Regions from separate parts of the Homo sapiens genome. Here region 1 is linked to region 2. Evidence: promoter capture Hi-C in 16 types of primary human blood cells and fetal thymus (Javierre and others, 2016). All regions are on one chromosome and are shown on one strand. Each heading gives the region's core, a stretch centred on a gene start or on the middle of the fragment in contact. The rest is flanking DNA. Distances are from core to core; before and after follow the strand shown. Region 1 overlaps MFGE8 (milk fat globule EGF and factor V/VIII domain containing). Region 2 holds the start of POLG (DNA polymerase gamma, catalytic subunit).

Region 1 (5,272 bases), core at 2,731-5,230, 430 kb before region 2:
CTCTGTGGATCCTGACCAGCCCCTGTCATGCTCTTGGGCAACAGAAAGCAGCTCCATCCGCCTTGCAGGGCCAACTGTGCGACCTTCTCACTGCCGACCCCACCACCTCCTCACCTCAACCAGCCGGGCTCAGCTCCTCACAGATCACCCAAGACCTCCCACTCACCACCCTTCTCCTCTGCACCAGGGAAGGCCCCTGCTCCACCACCTCCTGCCCTCCTTCAATGCCTGACTTTGGAGACACCTCCTCCAAGAAGTCTGCCCTGACTACTTCACTTGGGCAGGATTTCTTCCTCTTCTGGACTCACAGCACTGCCCCCATCGCCTCGGCCTCCCATCCGTCCCATGGCACAGTCACTATCTACTTTAATAACAACCACATTGTTTATTCAGTGCTTACTTCAGTCATTTAACCTGCCACCAAAAAAAAAAAGAAAAAAAAACACTAAATGAAGTAGAAATTAGTAAGCCCATTCTATAGATGAGAAAACTGAAAGACATTAAGCATCATGCTCAAGTCACATACAAACTCCTAATGTCACACTATGACGTCACCTCTACCAGCTACACATCCCAGCTAGATGATGAAGGCCTGCCTAGTGACGACCCAGTGATGAACAGGACAACATCCCTGCCCTCCAGCAGCTGGCAGTTAGAGAAATCAGACAACTCCTGGGGCACAGGAACATCTCTATTTCCATTCCCCAGAAGCCCCCTGACTTAGTGTCTCCCAGAGGGCCTTCGCACACTCAAATGTTCTGGGGATGCTGTCACACAGGCCTGTGAGGGCTGGCCCGGGAAGCTGGCCTTTGTTTCACTCAGCCCTGCCCCAAACACTCAGGAATGTGCCGGGCTGCCTTGCACTTGTATCTGCACCTGCATATGGATAGAACAGTTGGGGATGGGCAAGAGATACAACTCCCAAGAGAATGATGGGGGTGTCTCCCACCTGGAAGAATCCTCACTCCACAAGTGTCTATCCCTCTGGGGAATTGAGGGAGGCAGGAGTGGACGGTGGGACTGGAGAGCCCCCTGCCCTCTGGGAGCCAGCTAAGTTATATCACTGCCCTCCAATACTCTCACCACTCAAGAGTACTGGGAGCCAGCTAAGTTATATCACTGCCCACCTGTACTCTCACCACTCAAGACATTTGCCTCCAGGGTGTGTTGACAATGCCTGCTGATGGTACCATCATCTCCTGATGGTGATGCACCAGGGAACCACCACCTTCCCCCTCAAAGAGAGGCTCCCGGGCTGAGAGCTGGTTGTCCCTTGGCCCCAGAAGAGGAGAGGCCTGAGGCAGGCTAAAACCTGGGCAGCTTTGCAGAGGACACCAATTCTGCACAATGTGCTCAACGCAGACCCCTCTACAGATCATCTGCTTCTAGTGGTTCATACCCTCCTCACTCTCAGCCTCCCCAGGAAGTCAGACAGCCTTTCTGGTAAAATGCAGTTGGAAGGGGCACCAGGGCAGGGACAGGACTGTCAGCTCCAGCACTCTAGGAAGTCCCTTCCTCTCTCTGGCTCTCAGTCTCCCCATCTATAAAATGAGATACTAGGGGAGTAATTCTCACAGATCACCTGGGGATCTTGATATAAAAAAAAAAAGCTTATGTTTCAGCAAGTCTAGGCTGGGGCTTTCAGTCTGTATTTCTTTTTTTTTGTTTTTTTGTTTGTTTGTTTGAGACACAGTCTCGCTCTGTCACCCAGGCTGGAGTGCAGTGGCATGATCTCGGCTCACTGCAACCTCCACCTTCTGACCGGGTTCAGGCAATTATCCTGCCTCAGCCTCCCTAGTAGCTGGGATTACAGGCACCTGCCACCACGCCTGGCTAATTTTTGTATTTTTTTAGTAGAGACGGGGCTTCGCCATGTTGGCCAAGCTGGTCTTGATCTCCTGACCTCAGGTGATCCGCTCGCCTCGGCCTCCCAAAGTGCTGGGATTACAGGCGTGAGCCACCGCACCCGGCCTCAGTCTGCATTTCTAAGAAGCTCCTAGGTGATGACACTGCGGGTCCCTGGGGCTCTTCACCCACCAAGCTGCCCCTCCATCTCTTGGCTCCAGCTCCACTGGCCTTCCTTCCACCCTTCAACATGCCCCAGGGCCTTTGCATTTACCAATTCCTTGCCTGCAGTGCTCTTTTTGCAGTGCTGTTTTTAAGTTTTTCATGTGGCTGGCTCTCCATCATTCAGGCCCCCAGTCAAAGGCCTTCCCGACAGAGCAGTCCTTGTCTTGCTCTCTCCCCTCACCCCAAGTCATGGTCATCTCATCAGCCTCTAGCTTTTCTTCAGAGCTGTTACTGCTCTCTGTCATCTGCTCCTCGCCTCAAGTCTGCCTTCCTTGCTACAATGCAAATTACATGAGGTCAAGGAATCATTCCCTAGAGCCAAGCACCCAGGAGGGGCTTAATCAATATCTTAATAAACATCCATCGAATTAAATAATTAATTTACCAAAGACACCATATGTCTGCAAAGAGGAATCCCTTGTGGAATCCCAGGTACCCCCAGACCTCAGCCCCACCCACACACATGCACACGTGCACACATGCACACATGCACCAACACTCTCCAGCCGACTGGAAGGCCTATAGGGAAAGGAGTGGTCCAGACCCTGAAGGAAGCAGACAGGGTACCTGGGCTTCCTTGGTTTGCAAGACTCACCCTCTCTTGGCCCTGAGCAGGGGCCAGTCATGCCTGGATACAGGCAACTTTAATGGCCAAAGGCTTCAAGCCAAAACAGCAAGTGTCAGGGACTCCAGGGAGAGGCACACAGACCTGGCTCTGTCCTTTCCCAGTAGCCTACATTTCCTTCTAGCAGAAGGCAAAGTCTTATACTCCCCACTGAAACAATACGGCTCAAAAGGGCCCCTGGTGGAGGAAGCATACCTACTCAAGTTCATACTAAAAACACTGAACCCAGCCAGGCACTGAACTCAGCTCTGAGGGGTATTTGGGTGGTGTCTGAAATGAGACAACAGGAAGAGGTGTCACAGAGGGGAAAGGCGGGGCACAGGAGGGCAGGTAAGATCAAAAGGCCAGCGGGTAAGATAAGAACCTCCACTCTGCAGCTCTGCTTAGCGAGCCCTACAGTTCCACTGATGGCCAGCAGGTGGCATTGTGGCTGCAAAGAGAGAGAAATACCCAGACCTCAGGAAAGCTGGGTTGAGCTGGGCTGAGACAATTAATGTCTGTCAGCCCAAACCCGGCACTCTGACCTCGCCCAGGCTGTCCCCTGGCTCTGCAGAAATCTGTCCCTTTATGGTCTCCCCAGCTCTTCATCTGGGAATCTCTTTGGAAAAGGCAGCAGGAAGCACCAGCTCCAAGCCCTGTGGTCCAAGAAGCCCCTGTGTTTCTCTGGAGTGCAGACTCTTAAGAGTTTGGCAGGGAAAGCTCTGGATGGGTGTGGTCGGGAGCCCAGAGATCTAGACCAAGTCTTAATACCTACCAGATGTGTACCCTTAATAAATCATTCATCGGGGCCCCACGCCCCTCATTCATTCATTCGCTCATTCATCAAATATTTATTGAGTACCTATAAACCAGACACCATTCTAGGCCCTGGGAATACCGAAGCAAACAAAACAGACAGATTCTCTGCCCTCGTAAAGCTGACATCTGCCAAACACACCTAACGCTACATGTTCTAGAAGCTACAGGAGAGGAGCCAACCAGAAGAAGGGAAAATACTTTGAAAACTGATGTCTTTTTCTCTATCAATCAGAATGCCCTGGGTCATGGGTTGGCAGACAGCAAACACCTGGGTGGGGCTGCTATGGCCAGGTGACCCCCTAGAGTGCGTTGCCCGAGTGAAGCCTGGTCCCCGTGCCTTGTTGCTGCCCTACCTAGCTCAGTTTGGCTGAGAAAAGAGGCAGCAGGGAGGGCCACCTCCTAGGATTGGCCAACAGTGCCCCCCTACCCGCACCCCCAGCACTCACCGTTCAGCTCACAGCCCAGTAGCTCAAAGCGCAGAGTGCAGGCCGTGTGGCAGCTCGTGGGGTACAATCTCACGTACTGAGCCTCCACAGGGGTCTCAAACAGGTTGACATGCACCGCGTTTTTGTTCCAGTTACCCACAAACTCCTAGCAGGGAAGGGACAAGACTGGAGAAGGGGGTCCATCTGAGCAGTCCCCCTCCCTGGGGTTACCTCATCTTCCTCTTCAGACCTGGGAGGCAGAGGTGGGGCTGGGAGGGTGAAGAGGACTTGGAAGAGCCAGCAGAGGCTCACACAGCAGCCTCTCCTTTGGCCACCCCACGGCCCTCCACAAAGATTCTCCTCTCACTTTCCTTAATCATCATGGAGCCTGGGCATAAACCCCTATAGCTGACACAGGGCCACCTGTAACCTACAGGGTACCTCTTTGCAAATTAGGAAAAGGCACTCCTTTCTCAAATAGTTTATTATGACAATTTTCTGACAGAGTTCCACAAATGTACAATGCCTGTACTGTGAATGGTGCCTGCTTAGCAATGACATCCTTGAGCAGTGTACAACCTACACAACTGTACATGTACCCATGAAGGCTCAGAATGAAACCCAGCTCCACCACCACTATCACCCTCAACAGGTCACTGTGCCATTTTGAATCTCACTAGTCTCATCTCTAAAGTGGGACTATTGCTTATAAACCACAGAACATGGACACAGTCTGGGTTTCCCAATTTCTAGAAGCCAAGATGCACCCGAAGACCCACATCATAGCCAATCACCTAGGGTTCTCTGGACTCGCTGGGGGTCCTCAGTCAATGCTAGAACCTTAGGGGGTATGGACCACAGCCCTTCTTTCGGGCCCCAACAAGACCTACCTTGTGTTTTTTATTAACATCATGGATGAAATCGAATTCGTGTCCATTAAGGCTGTAGGCCACCTTGAAGGCCTTCAGGTACTCATGACTGGCCAAGCGGCTGGCACCCTGCGTCACCACACCTGTTACCCACATCCTCCGCAGCAGGTTCACCTGGACACAGGGCAGGGGAGATGGCACCCTTATCTCCTGGGTTCTTTCCACTCAAGATCCAAGCAGACCCATCCCTTCACTCCCCCACTGGGTGGGGGAACAACTCAAGCAAAACAGAGGAGGGGTAGCTGAGCACACTGCCCGCACAAAGGGCTTTCTTCTTCTGCCCAGGCCTCCAGAGGCCTCATCCAGCACCAACAGCTCCTCCACAGCCTGGGGCCTCCTCCCCCCTCACCTTGACCCCATACCAGGTTCCTCCAGGGATGCCATCCACTTACAGATACTTCATCCATGGGAACCTGTTACCTTGC
Region 2 (5,293 bases), core at 1-2,500:
CTTGCGGCTGCTGAGGCTGCTGTTGCTGCTGCTGCTGCTGCTGCTGCTGCTGCTGCCGCCGCCGCTGCCCGTCGCTGGGGTCGGACGCGGGGACGGAGCTGGAGACCCAGCGCCCCGGAGCTGGAACCGGCCCTGGCCCGACGGTGGCGCCGGCCACCTTCCTCCAGAGCAGGCGGCTCATGGTTGGTGCAGGGACCCCCACGCTGGGAGTCAGAACACCTGGCTTTGGGCTCCAGCTTGGCTTCTTTTACTGGCTGGAAGACGTGGAGAGAGACACGTCCTGTCTCTGCTCTCCTGTCAGTGAAATGGGTTTGACCATGCCTGCCTTCCACCCCAAATCCTAAAGGAGACAGATGATATAAAGCGTTATTTTACCATATATGTAATAGGTGTATCCATAATCATCATTCCTTGAGCATTTACTGCGTCCCCAACACTGTGCCAGGCGCTTCAGTTGCATTTTCCGTTAAGCCTCAAAACTTGGGAAACGTCAATACCCCTCCTGGGGGAACCGGGGTCCACGCAACTTCGTCAGTGAACCCACGTGGGGAAGCCGAGGGCAGCGAGTAAGAGAGCAGTATCTGGAGTAGGGCGACGCGGTTTTGAACCCCGCTTCTGGCTCTCTCGAGCTGTGTGACCTTGGGCAAAGCTCCTTAGGCCCTGATATCCTATTCTGTAAAATGGGATTACGGATTCTGCCTGTCACACCGGGCTGCTGTCTGGGGGACACAGGGCGCCTATGTCGTGCGGCCCTGCTCTTGGCAAGCGCTCGGCAAATGGTGGCTGCCATTACCGCGACCGGCGCGGGCCTAGCGTCGAGAGGTGCCAGCGCCCGGATTCGAACCCGCAGGGTGGGCCGCCGTCCCCCGGGACCCACACCCACACCCGGACCACGGCCCACCCGGCCGAGAGCGTCCTGCAGGAGGAGTCGGCGGCCACCCCCGTGCGCCCCGCCGCCCGCCTGCGCCCGGCAGAGGCGCCGCGGTGCGCCCTGGGACTAGCCGCCGCCCTGCTCCGGGCCTCGCTCCCTGACTGGAGAGGGAGGGGCCGCGCCGTCGCTCAGCGACCCGGCCTCCCCGCCGCCGACCCCGCCGGAAACCTCGGTCCTCACGGTGCTTCCCGGTCTGCTGCTCCCCCGACCCCAGGCCCACGGCACGGCGTCCCCCTTCGCGCGGCCTACGCAGCCTCGGGGTAGCGTGTGGCCTCCACCCGGCCGGTCCGCTTCGCTGGCAGCCGCAACTTCCCGTCTGCACCCAGCTAGGTCCCGCGGCTACCCGAGAGGCAAGCGGGAGACTCCCAGCGCGACCAATAGGAGGGCCGCCAATGGAGCGGTCCGCCCGCGGGGGGAGAAGGGGGACTTCTGGGTGGGCTCTCCCTGCGGAACGCGCGAACCAAAGGCCAACCTCCCCTTCTCAAGGAGCAGGTGGATTGGTCCCGAGCTAGCTGGTGGGCGGAGGTGACGTTTTTATAAGTTGCTCAAGAGACGGTAACAACCGACGGGCCGCGTGGCCTAATGGATAAGGCGTCTGACTTCGGATCAGAAGATTGCAGGTTCGAGTCCTGCCGCGGTCGAAGGGAGGTTATGATTAACTTTTAGTTTATTCCTCCCTCAGGAACGAAGTATTGGGACAATGTGAACGTAGTCGCCGCCGATTCCCACCGCACTTCAAAGATGTGGGAACGCCAAGATCCGCGGAAGTAACCACGCCCAGCAAGTCCCTGCGAGATTGCCCGCCTACGTGTCTCAGCGGAGGCACATTTCTAAAATGTACCAGGTCTCTCGCACCCCGACGCAGGTGGAGGAAAGTGGAGAGGGAGGGGCATCCTGTACAGAAATCTCAATTTATACTCAATTGATGGTTGGCAAGAGTTGGGGCTCGCAGCCAAAGCGAGGCTCCCTCCCTCGCCCATCCGGTGCTGCCTCCTCGTCCAGAGCAATTCTGAGGGGTAAAAATGTTGCCTTCCGTTGAACCTGAATTTGCCCGCAGATGCTAGCCTCCGGCCCACAGCGCGGCTGGAGCTTGTCCCCTTCCCCAGCTGTTTCCAGTCTCCGCATCCGTCTTGTGTTGCTCCAGGTGCTTCAACAGCTCTCAGCGCTCGGTGGTTGGTGAACTGTGGTAAAGTGCACGCAGAATAAGGTCTACGTGATTAAGCACCGCCTGGGGGTTGGGGTCTGGAGGCCCAGCTGCACAGATGAAAGGGAGGCTCAGAGACGTTTGGGACCAACCGAGATCACACAGCTGATTAGGAATAAAATTCAGGTCAAGCTGAAAGTCGGCCGCCACCGTCCAGCGTGGATCCCAGGACACCGTGAACGGACTACAGAAGTTGACTTTCGCGTTTTTAAGGAGTGGGGTGCAGGGAAACAATCCTCCGCCGGCCCTGCGGGCTGATGCCGACCCTCACCTGCTCCCGCCACGTGGAGAGGTAGAGAGAAGCCCCGGGCCAAGCAGCATTGAGCCCTGGTCCCTTCTATTTAAATATGAAATATTTTGCATACACTTTTCTAGATGTACTTAATATACACAATGTTTTAATGTTTGTGATTTTTTTGTTTTGCCAAAAAAATACAATCAATCAGAAATTCATCTGTTTTTTTTTTTTTTTTCACATAACTGTTGACTTTTACAAAATACTGGAAGGAGAGGCTCTCAGCTTAAATCAGGGAGTCCCTGAATGGGGAAAACATTTTCATCTTGTTTCTTCTAACCGCCTACTGATACTTGGCATTTCCTCCAATTATGAGCATAGGCTGTCAGCCACAGTGGTATTAACAGTGCCTGTGACTTTGTCCCCTCCAGCAACCACAGATATTTTCATAACGCATTACAAGTGCTGCACATTTTTCAAAATTTGTTTGCACTTATCTGTACTTCAAAATAACAGGGGTTACTAGACTGCCACTAGATCCTGTTAGTTAATAAGTTTACCTATTTGTCCTAATATTTGAATACCTTTGGTGTCCTTTGTAATCCTTCATGTTTTATGTGCTTAAAAACACTATTCTTCCATATAACCAAAAACTGCCTGTACCCCTATTGAAATAAAAATTAATAAAACATATTTCACAGAAAAAAATTAAAAACAGAAACACTACTCTAGGCCAGGTTCAGTGGCTCACGCCTGTAATCCCAGCACTTTGGGAGGCTGAGGTGGATGGATTGCCTGAGCTCAGGAGTTGAAGACCAGTCTGGCCAACATGGCGAAACCCCATCTCTACCAAAAAAATACAAAACTTAGCCCGGCATGGTGGTGCACGCCTGTAATCCCAGCTACTTGGGAGGTTGAGGGAGGAGAACCTCTTGAACCCGGGGGGCAGAGTCTGCAGTGAGCCGAGATTGCACCATGGCACTCCAGTCTGGGCAGCAGAGTGAGACTCCATCTCCCCACTCCCCACCAAAACAACAACAACAACAAAAAAAAGAAAAAAAAGAAAGAAAGAAACACACTATTCTAAGAAGGTGTCTATGACACAAAAAAGCTAAGAACCCCTGGCCCAACTGTCCACAGGGGCTGCTGTTGCTGGGCCTGATTGGCCTCTCCTGAGATTCAGTCTCAGGAGATGTCCATCAAGATGCCTGCTCCTCCCATAGACTACTTGAGACTAGCCTAGTGCCCTGGTCCTGGAATTAGAATCTTCAACAAGGACAAAAACGGTTGATACTGATTCCTGCTGAGGGAGGGTACCTGGAGGCCTGCACCCTTCCTGCCAGGCTACACCCTGTTTCCAGGCCTTTCTGAACCCAGCTCCTCCACTTCCCCTGCCTCCTTTTCTAGGAACTCCCCCACGTCCTTCTAGAAAAGTCTGTCCTTGATAGTGGTTCCTGAGAAACAGTTACATTTTCCCACAATTCCCTGGACCTCTCCCCCCACAGAGCAAGAGGCAAAGTTCATTAGGACCCCTGTCCTCATCAAAACACTCCGTACTTTTTTTCTTCTTCTTCTTCTGAGACAGAGTCTTGCTCTGTGCCCAGGCTGGAGTGCAGAGGCGTGATCTCAGCTCACTGCAGCCTCCACCTCCCAGGTTCAAGCGATTCTCGTGCCTCAGCCTCCGGAGTAGCTGGGATTACAGGTGTGTGCCACCATGTGGATCTAATTTTTGTATTTTTAGTAGAGACTGGTTTCACCATGTTGGCCAGGCTGGTCTGGAACTCCTGGCCTCAAGTGATCCACCCGCCTTGGCCTCCCAGAGTTCTGGGATTACAGGCTTGAGTCACTGCGCTGGGCCAGAACACCCTGTACTTTCAAAGCATGTACCTCAGTTGTAACTAATGATGATTTTTTAAAAATCTCCCCCTTCCACTGCTGTAAATGCCCATAGGGACTGACCTTGTGTCTTATTTTGAGCTCAATTCCAGGACCTGCCTGGAGCTTGGTAATAACCGGCACTTGCTAGCTGCCAGGTGCTGTTCTAAGGGCTCACATATGTCACTTAAGTGAATCCTCACATCGACCCTTGGATAGAGGTACCGTTATCCCCTTTCACCCATGAGGAAACTAAGGCACAGAGAGGCGAAGCAGCTTGCCTAAAGCCCTATAGCTGGTCATTGGTAGAGCTGGGATTTGAATTCATGGAAACCAGGATCTCAGCAACTGCACTACACGGCAAATACTGGCTTTATGATGCTAGCAGAGGATCCCTACTGCACAACTGTGTGCCAGGCGCTGCACGTGCACACTGATGTGGCCTCCTACATCACTGCTGCTGACTAAGTAAGGGGCCCTCAGGTGACAGCCTGCTCCTCCAGAGTCCCTCTCGTGTGCTTACTTCCTGGTGACTTTCATGGTCTTCTCTCAGGTTTGCCAAGCCCAACTCCAGCAATTTCTGCCACAGACAGAAAATATCACCACTCTTCCTTTATCAACAGCTACCACTTGCAAATGAACCAGGCTGAACGCTTTAGAGCACCATTTTATTTAATCATTTCAATGACCCCATAAAGTAGGTGCTGTTATTATTCATTTTACAGATGAGAGAAGATAGACTCCAGTAAGAAGTGTGAAGTAAGAAGTGTGAAGCATGGTGGCTAATGCCTGCAATCCCAGCACTTTGGGAGGCCAAGGCAGGAAAATAGCTTGAGGCAGGAGTTCAAGACCAACCTGGCCAACACAGCAAGACCCCCATTTCTAAAAAAGATAAAGAATTTTTTTTAAAACTGGCTGGGTGTGGCAGTATGTACCTGTATTCCCAGCTACTCAGGAGGCTGAGATGGGAGGATCACTTGAGCCCAGCAGTTCCAGTCTAGCCTGGGCAATATAGCAAGACCTTCATCTCTAAAAAAAATTAAAAATA

Evidence for each region. The method cuts DNA at HindIII sites, captures the fragments that hold promoters and counts their contacts. A CHiCAGO score of 5 or more calls a contact.
Region 1: a contact is called between a fragment that was not itself captured here and the fragment with the promoter of POLG in region 2, in 1 of 17 cell types (activated CD4 T cells). The highest score is 5.0, in activated CD4 T cells.

Annotation. Positions count from the first base shown.
Region 1 is chr15:88,901,818-88,907,089 of GRCh38, forward strand. MFGE8 (milk fat globule EGF and factor V/VIII domain containing) reads right to left here. Exons shown (of 8, transcript NM_005928.4): 4 at 4,809-4,961; 5 at 3,940-4,084. Among named protein-coding and RNA genes, the nearest start is that of HAPLN3, 8.9 kb to the left of the region's middle. RefSeq lists a silencer at 3,028-3,217 and an enhancer at 5,079-5,272. The HindIII fragment of the contact is 4,744 bases long and covers 1,609-5,272 here.
Region 2 is chr15:89,333,574-89,338,866 of GRCh38, forward strand. POLG (DNA polymerase gamma, catalytic subunit) reads right to left here and starts at 1,251. Exons shown (of 23, transcript NM_002693.3): 1 at 1,100-1,251; 2 at 1-340. The coding sequence starts at 181. It overlaps POLGARF (POLG alternative reading frame), which reads right to left and starts at 236. Exons shown (of 2, transcript NM_001430120.1): 1 at 1-236. The coding sequence starts at 236. POLG-DT (POLG divergent transcript) reads left to right here and starts at 914. Exons shown (of 2, transcript NR_186332.1): 1 at 914-1,281; 2 at 1,614-2,588. TRR-TCG1-1 (tRNA-Arg (anticodon TCG) 1-1) reads left to right here and starts at 1,500; the gene lies at 1,500-1,572. RefSeq lists enhancers at 519-1,020, 1,890-1,989, 2,000-2,069, 2,410-2,459 and silencers at 710-1,309, 3,267-3,436. The HindIII fragment of the contact is 8,583 bases long and covers 1-5,293 here.